Linked DNA regions of Homo sapiens: region 1 is linked to region 2. The links are contacts of gene promoters, found by promoter capture Hi-C in blood cells and fetal thymus (Javierre and others, 2016). All regions are on one chromosome and are shown on one strand. Each heading gives the region's core, a stretch centred on a gene start or on the middle of the fragment in contact. The rest is flanking DNA. Distances are from core to core; before and after follow the strand shown.

Region 1 (3,732 bases), core at 589-3,088, 5.2 Mb after region 2:
CTTCTGGTGTTAGTCCTATACTTAGTTAATAATTTAGGATTAGAAGGAAAATTATGGCAGTGAAGGAATACAGACAGGTAAGATCATGTTACTGTTGATTTATACACACGTTTCAACTACTCTAGAAAGTTAAAACTAAGTATCCTTTGTTCTTTTGAATGTAGTTGATATGTTTCATTTTTCAAACTTTAAAGGTTTCTTTCCTTAGCAAATCAAGCTTAGCTTTTAATAGAGGCTGTTTAATCATCCCCAAATGGGGCTTGTAGTTATTGTTTAACAGATAGCAATAGAAAGAGTCTTATCAGACCTACTTAGGATGGTAAAATATGTTTTTTGAAAGAATGCTACCCAAACCCACAATTTAGTCAATAAAATGAGTAGTTACCATAGCAACAACTGCATCATTCTTGATATTCAAAGAATGCTCTTACATAATGGAATTCACTGTAGATTTTATGTTATTTGGAGAGATTAGGAAATAAATGGACACATTTTCCTGCAATTTATCCTGCTATTTTGTACAAATTTAAGTGCATCTTTCTAAAGAGAAAAATGACTAGCATAGAATTCCATTTCTATTTTTACCTTTTAATAATTTCATTATTCATTTATTCATAAATGAATAGGTTCCACTCAAATTAACACACTAATGTGGCATCTCTTCAAGTGCTGTTTATATGTGCTTAGTTCCCACATGTTTAACCATGTTTTAAGCCTGAGTATTAACCACAGGAACTCTTGTTTATGAGAATCGGAAGTTACCAGATCTAGAATAGATACATGGAGTTCATAAGTGAATGATCTAGTATGCTTCTGGGGAGTTAAAGTCCTGGCAGTTTAAACATTTGAATGAGACTATTCTTTAGGCGCTTTAATACCCTGAATTTCACCGGTGATCTAGACTTCTCTAGGCTTTGCTTGAATGATATACAAAGCCCCATCAGTGAATTAGCAGAATAAGTGATCCTAATGAGCATGCTCCTTCTACCTTTATTTCTGACATATAGGCTAAATATTAGTAGTAAAAAAGTCATCTGTGAAAAACTCTGTGCACATAATAATACTAAGGAAATAATTTTTAGTGTTTTACTTTGAGGACTTAGTATTGTGCTGATGGTCCCCAGTCTGTAAACATATTTTACAAGTTCATTTGCAAGTCAGCTGTTATTGTAATCTGAAGATTGCTTAAGTGCTAGATCAGTCTGCAAAGGCCCATTGAATCAATAACATACCTGAACTATAGCACCAATAACTATGGAAACTGTACCCCTTTTATCACAATTCTTCTACCAGCAAATGCAGTGAAAATTCCAGCTTAGGATCTTGGAGTTTTAGACTAGAAGGAACCTCTTAGCATTTAGCAGTGATTCCCAAACATGGCTGATCAGCAGATTCAACTGGGTGCCTCTTAGACAATTCCTGTATTCTACCTCAGATCTATAGTTTAAGATCCCTATTATTAGGAACTGGAAATTGTCAGCCAGATATTAGAGTGGTGATCTAATAGCTTCTTCATTTTACAGATAAGTGAGCGGAGTCCTAAAAATATTAAAATAACTTTCTTGATGCTTTGGTAGTTCATTATTAATACTATACATATTTTATGGGAATAATATAGGTTCCCCACCCCCAACTCCAAACCTAATATTAGTGACTCCAAATGTTAGAATAGGAGGGAAAATGAGAAGCAGGAAGTGGCCCTAGAATTTCCATTAGGTGAAAAGTTATAAATTGATGGGAATGGATGATCCATAGGATAGGTATGATTAGCTGAGTTGGGGCTATACAAGGTGAGGGTTTTTTGGGGAGAGATGGCAGGGAAGGAAATAAGTTAGGGTAGAATAAGGAGGCAAAACAGCCATTGAATATTAAGGACAGGATAGATAGTGACTGGGAGGTTGGAGAACAGAGCCTTCTTTTCCCTTATCTCTATTAGTGGAATTGAAAATAAAACAGGAAAAACAATGAAAATAAGTTGTGTTGTTCTTTTTTGCTGTGATAAGAAAAGATTTTTTTCCACTCTTCTCCAACCATTTGCCCAACTGATGCTAGTTGATGGTGATGAACAGGCTTGGGGTGGGGAAGGGTGAACAGGGTTGTAAAGAGTAGCAGGTAGGCTTAATGCACTCTTTTCGTTTACCACTTTTTCCTTCCCCAGTTTATGGCCTGCCTTGTTTCACCACTTAAGAGATGCTGTGCCAATTTGTCTAAAGGTAAAGTGAGAACTGGAGATAAAGGTGTGTTCCAGGCAGCACTCGTATCTGAAGCAGTTACTAAAAAGAAATGGTAGGGAGATGCCTAGCAGTGGTGATGCGAAGGGGTATTTCTGGTGTCTGCCATTGATAGTTAAGAGACAGTCTTTTAAAGTGAGGTTATATTCATAAGATATTCATAAGATAGGTTTTTCACTATCTAGTGAATAGATCCATATTTATAAATGGAAATATGCTTGCACATATAGGTGTTTTCTGTCTTTGCATACATAATTTTTAAAATTTGACCTCCATGTAAACCAAAAATATTTTAAATGTATAAGAGTTATAGACAGCTTTTTAATTAAAAAAACTAGTTTCGCTTTTCAAACAGGGACTTCATTATTTAATTAGATGAGCCTGACAAATATGTATCAAATCAAGAACTGAAGTAGAGCCATGTGTGTTTTTGGTTGTCTTTGTATGATTTTTTTTTTCCATAATCGTATTCACATGAACCCATTCCTGTAATGATTGCTTTTATGCCTGGCATTTCTCTTTCTAAACTTAAAGCGTTTATGTAAAAATTCCAAGAAAATGTAAAAGGCTGCAGTTGTCAGGAGTAAAAGTACACTTTTCATTCCATTTCGTTTTTATTTTTTTAACCTATCTTATGAATATCTTTGGGACATTTTATCAAATTATTCAATCCCTGAATTTACTTGTTCTGCATACCAAACAGATTTAAAACAGTTTATCACATAAACACCTGCAGCTTATAAATCAATCACAAAAAAAAGTAAAAGTATGTACTAAACTGTTAAAAGAGGTATTCTTAAAGTCATGGAATTAGGGGGTGATCTTAACAGGTGAATTAGCATGGCAGTGTAGGATAAGCTGAAAAATATATTTGTGATTGACTATTCTTCAGCAAACACTTAAAATGAGAATTGTGGGGGAAGGGGAAAAACTTTTGTATTAAAATAATTTTAAACCAAAAAGGCTAAAAATAAGAGAATGAATGTGATGTTGGTGTTTTTCCAGAAACAAAGTTTTGAAGTTGTTTTAAAAATTAGAATGAGACTCCTTTTAATTGAACTTTTCTTATTTTTTTTCCTCAGTGGGCTTTAAACACAGCTGCTTTAAAATTTTGACCAAGTCCAAGACCTTAAGAAACTTTGAACAGATTCTTTTCTCAAGTGAGGTTTTGCTGTTTTCTTTTTGTGTTCTTCTTATACTTATTCTGATATAGAATCAGAAAGCTTTTTGTGATAGAATATTTGCCTGATCATTGAAATAAATAAGGTGAAGGTTGTCACAGAAGGTCCTGTTAAGTTTGCACTAGGAGAGTTTGAACTGCCATTCCCAACAGAAGAAAAATAATGAAAAGAGTTCAGTAATCAGTAATAGTAAAAGATAAAGGGACCATTTATATAGTCAGTTCAATGAAGGGCATGTAGGTATACAATGTACATTAGTGTTTAGCTATTTGATTTTGTTATTATTAGTGTTCTTTGTGACAAGGTATCGTTTTAGGGGC
Region 2 (3,826 bases), core at 114-2,613:
GTTCACTACATAAAAACGTTAAAAGTTTCTTAGACGCCAAGGCAGGAGGATCACTTGAGGTGAGACCAGCTTGGGCAACACAGCGATACCCCCATCTCTATTACCCTGGCCTGGTGACCTATAGTCCCAGCTACTCAGGAGGCAGAGGCAGAGGCAGGAGGATTGCTTGGGCTCAGGAGTTCAAGGTTGCATTGAGCCATGATCAAGCCACTGCACTCCAGCCTGGGCAACAGAGTGAGACCCTCGACTCAAAAAAAGAAAAAAAAAAAAAAACTTAAAAAAAGCTTCTGTTTTTGTCTTTGTGATAATTACATGATTAAAAAAGGGAAAAAATAGAAAAAGAAAACCTCTTTCTGTATGTGATCGGTGTATCTTATCTCAAAATATCCTGGATTTTTGACACTTTTCTACTAGGAAGGTTACCAATCTATTATTTCAGGCAGGATATTTCGTTTCTTAGGCCTGTTTATTTCTAAAATGAAAAGTGGATGAGTACTAAATTAATCGATGTTGGACGATTTTCCAGCATGTTAAAAAACTGTCTTCCAGGACAGGCTTCTGTAATTCAAAAGTAAAGAAACTATATAAGCAGTGTCACAGGGTACCAATAACGCATCATTAAAAGCATTCGGTATTTAATTTTTGTCACCCAGTTTGTACCTGAGCTTAACGTAGTGTTTTTGTCCTAAGACTTTAAAACGGTAACACTTGTAAAGTCTATTTTAAGACTTCCCATGGGGTTGTTACTTGCTCCTCACTATAATCCATTACAACAGCAACCATTTTTTTTCATTCTACCAACAAGTTGGGACTTCAAGTGGTAAAGGGACAGAAACAGTCTGTGAACCATCGTTAAACTTTTTGCTATCCTCGAACGAGCAAATTATGTGAATAAAACAAGTACAAAGATTTGCAAAACTGTTGTCGCCGCCAGGACGACTGTTCATCTTATTCACAAACTTTAACACTTATGCCATAGGGAAATAGTAAGTAAGAATCAAGAGCGTACATTTTTTTTAAGACAGAAAAGTTCGGAATAATCACACTGGGTTTTTATTTGGGTTTTGCAGGCAAAATGGAAAGGACCCCTGGGCCCGCAGCAGCGGGAAGGCTCGAGGCGCCGCCGGCGAACTCTGGGTCGTTCCGGGGCCCTCATCTCCTCGCCCGCCCCCAGGATCCCGCCGAGGCCAGGCCTCCCAACCTCCCACCGATCCCCGACCGCGGCCTCTCCGCGACCCCGGCTCACGCCCGCGGCGGCCAGCTTGAGGATACGGTTGATGTAGTTCTCCAAAGCGGACGTCATGCTGTTCGGCCCGGCGGTTCCGGGTAACGCAGCGGTGCCGACAGCAAGCAGAACTGAAAGGGCGCGCCAGAACCCGGCAGCGGATAGCGCCTGCGGGTCGCAGCAAATATCGTGAGAGTTGCTGCTCCGCAGCCCTGTGAGTCGGAAATTGGGACGAACTGGCCAACCAAACAGAAGCCGCACAGCGGTGACGAGAGAGTGCGCGTGCGCAGTGTGTTTTCTCTGTAATTCTGGGCCGTGTTCCGGAAGCCTCGTAAGACAAAAGCGAACGAGAGGCGGAAAAAAGGAAGACGCTTCCTGAAGTTGGGGGTATGAGACAGAAGTTGGGGGTATGAGACAGAAGTTGGGGGAGAGTGGGTTTCCAATCCGAGTAAAAGGCAGTGTGGTGGAAGTTAACAAGAGAAAATGTTGAGACGAGGTAGAGCAGGCAGGAATAAACGAAGTAAGGTGTTTTTATTAGGAGTGAAGGAGAGAGACGAGTGCTGTTGTGTGAAACGTAGGTGCGGGTAGTTGAATCCCTAGTTTTCTGCAGCAGAAGCCGAAAATAACGCTAAAAATAAGTTCAGTTGCCCGGGACAGAGTTGCGCACGTTATAACCACACGGTGTACGCCTCTTAAGAACTCAGCAGTGAAATACACTTTCGTATGTTCTGCTTTTGTCTCTAAAAGTGTTCCAAAATGGAGGTGTTTTTACTTTTTAAAGAAACTAAATGCAAATAGGCAAAGGTGTGTGACCATCCCTTAGAAAACGAATGTCCACGCTTCTGCCACGCCAGGATGGTCTACCTTTCTTCAGGGTGAAATTAGTAAGTAAAAGGCTGCTGCAGCACCGAGAAAGGACCGATGCAGGAAGGATGCAGGAAGGCACCAAACTTGGTTCTAATCTTGGCTCTGCTAACAAATTGGTGTCATTGCACAGGTCACTTCAATTCTTCTGGGCCTCAGTTTCGTTAGATAGTCCCATAGGTATCATTTCAGATATTTCCCAATGCGATACTGTTCCCACTTCATTTACTGTTGCCCTAACTTGAGAGAGCTTGAAGTTAGAAAGAGATTTATACACAAAACACCAGCAGGAGCGATTTCCCTTTTTTGCAAAATATCTTTATAATTTCAGTTAAACATGTATTTTCTTAAGATTTGTGGCTTTGTAATAACTCTTGCAATGTCAGCAGTTTTCCTCGGAAAAGGAAGCATTTCTTAATTAGAGCATACCCACAAGATACTCCCAAATAGTTAATATTTTATATTCTGGAACTTATTCCTATCTGTTTGAAATCAAATGTAGTCAGGAATTAGATTGTGAATGTCTCATATTCTCAGGGTAACAAATGAAAGTGTCTTCCGCTAATGAAAGAACAAAGATAATTGTGTGATTTGCAAATGTTAGGTGTTGAACCAAAACCCAAAGACTAATTAATGATTAACGAGGTGTTAGGAGTTTTGTTAAAAAAAGAAATTGCTGGGCATGTTGGTGGGTTCCTGTAACCCCAGCTACTCTGGAGGGTGAGGCAGGAGAATTGCTTCAACCCGGGAGGCGGAGGTTACAGTGAGCTGAGATCACGCCATTCCACTCCAGCCTGGGCGACAAAAGCGAAACTCCATTTCAAAAACAAACAAACAAAAAAACCTCTGTGTGATCTTATAAAAATGAGGCCGGGTGCAGTTGCTAACATCTGTAATCCCAGCACTTTGGGAGGCCAAAGCGGGTGGATCACAAGGTCAAGAGATCAACACCATCCTGGCCAACGTGGTGAAACCCCCTCTCTACTAAAATACAAAGATTAGCCAGCATGGTGGCGGGCACCTGTAGTCCCATATACCAGGGAGGCAGAGGCAGGAGAACCACTAGAACCTGGGAGGTGAAGTTTGCGGTGAGCGAAGATTGTGCCACTGCATTCCAGCCTGGGCGACAGAGCGATACTCCATCTCAAAAAAAAAAAAAAAAAATGAATACTCCCTATGGCTTTTCATCCCTTAGAGTGTGCTTTTGTAAGTCTATTGCCCTGTGTAGTTGTCATTAAATTAATATGCCAGATAAATAACAGATGAACAGTGTTTATGGAGCATCACAAAATCTCTTTGGCTGGAAACTTTTTTACATGTGTCTTAAAATCGCTATATTTTCTGTAGTCTGTAAGGATCACAGATGTAGCGAGAAAACCTATGGATAAATAAAAGTCGGTTTACTAAGACAAAATGAATTACATCTGGATGCAAACATTACATATGTGATTTATCTATATTAGCCATGTACCCTTGGGAGTACATGAATGTAGAAACCTTAGCATCTCATAAAGAAGAATTACATTAAAGCTCCAATAAGGGAAAACTGATACACATAAACATCTGACTACTAAAAAATTAAGAGTTAACAGTGAAACTTGCCCCTTAAGTCGAAACCTCTCAAAGTAATGCTCATTTAAATGACATTATATCACTGATAAAGTATCAACCAAAGTATGCTTGTAATAGATAATTTTATTCCATTACTTCTGAATCTAAATCTTGAGCAGAAAACCT

The links. The method cuts DNA at HindIII sites, captures the fragments that hold promoters and counts their contacts. A CHiCAGO score of 5 or more calls a contact.
Region 1: a contact is called between a fragment that was not itself captured here and the fragment with the promoter of LSM8 in region 2, in 2 of 17 cell types (naive CD4 T cells and activated CD4 T cells). The highest score is 7.3, in naive CD4 T cells.

The regions. Positions count from the first base shown.
Region 1 is chr7:112,934,846-112,938,577 of GRCh38, reverse strand. All of the region lies in intron 1 of SAMTOR (S-adenosylmethionine sensor upstream of mTORC1), which reads left to right. Among named protein-coding and RNA genes, the nearest start is that of SAMTOR, 3.2 kb to the left of the region's middle. The HindIII fragment of the contact is 3,237 bases long and covers 220-3,456 here.
Region 2 is chr7:118,181,701-118,185,526 of GRCh38, reverse strand. LSM8 (LSM8 homolog, U6 small nuclear RNA associated) reads right to left here and starts at 1,363. Exons shown (of 4, transcript NM_016200.5): 1 at 1,273-1,363. The coding sequence starts at 1,303. LOC105375470 (a long non-coding RNA gene) reads left to right here and starts at 1,559. Exons shown (of 4, transcript XR_927904.3): 1 at 1,559-1,612. The HindIII fragment of the contact is 4,305 bases long and covers 287-3,826 here.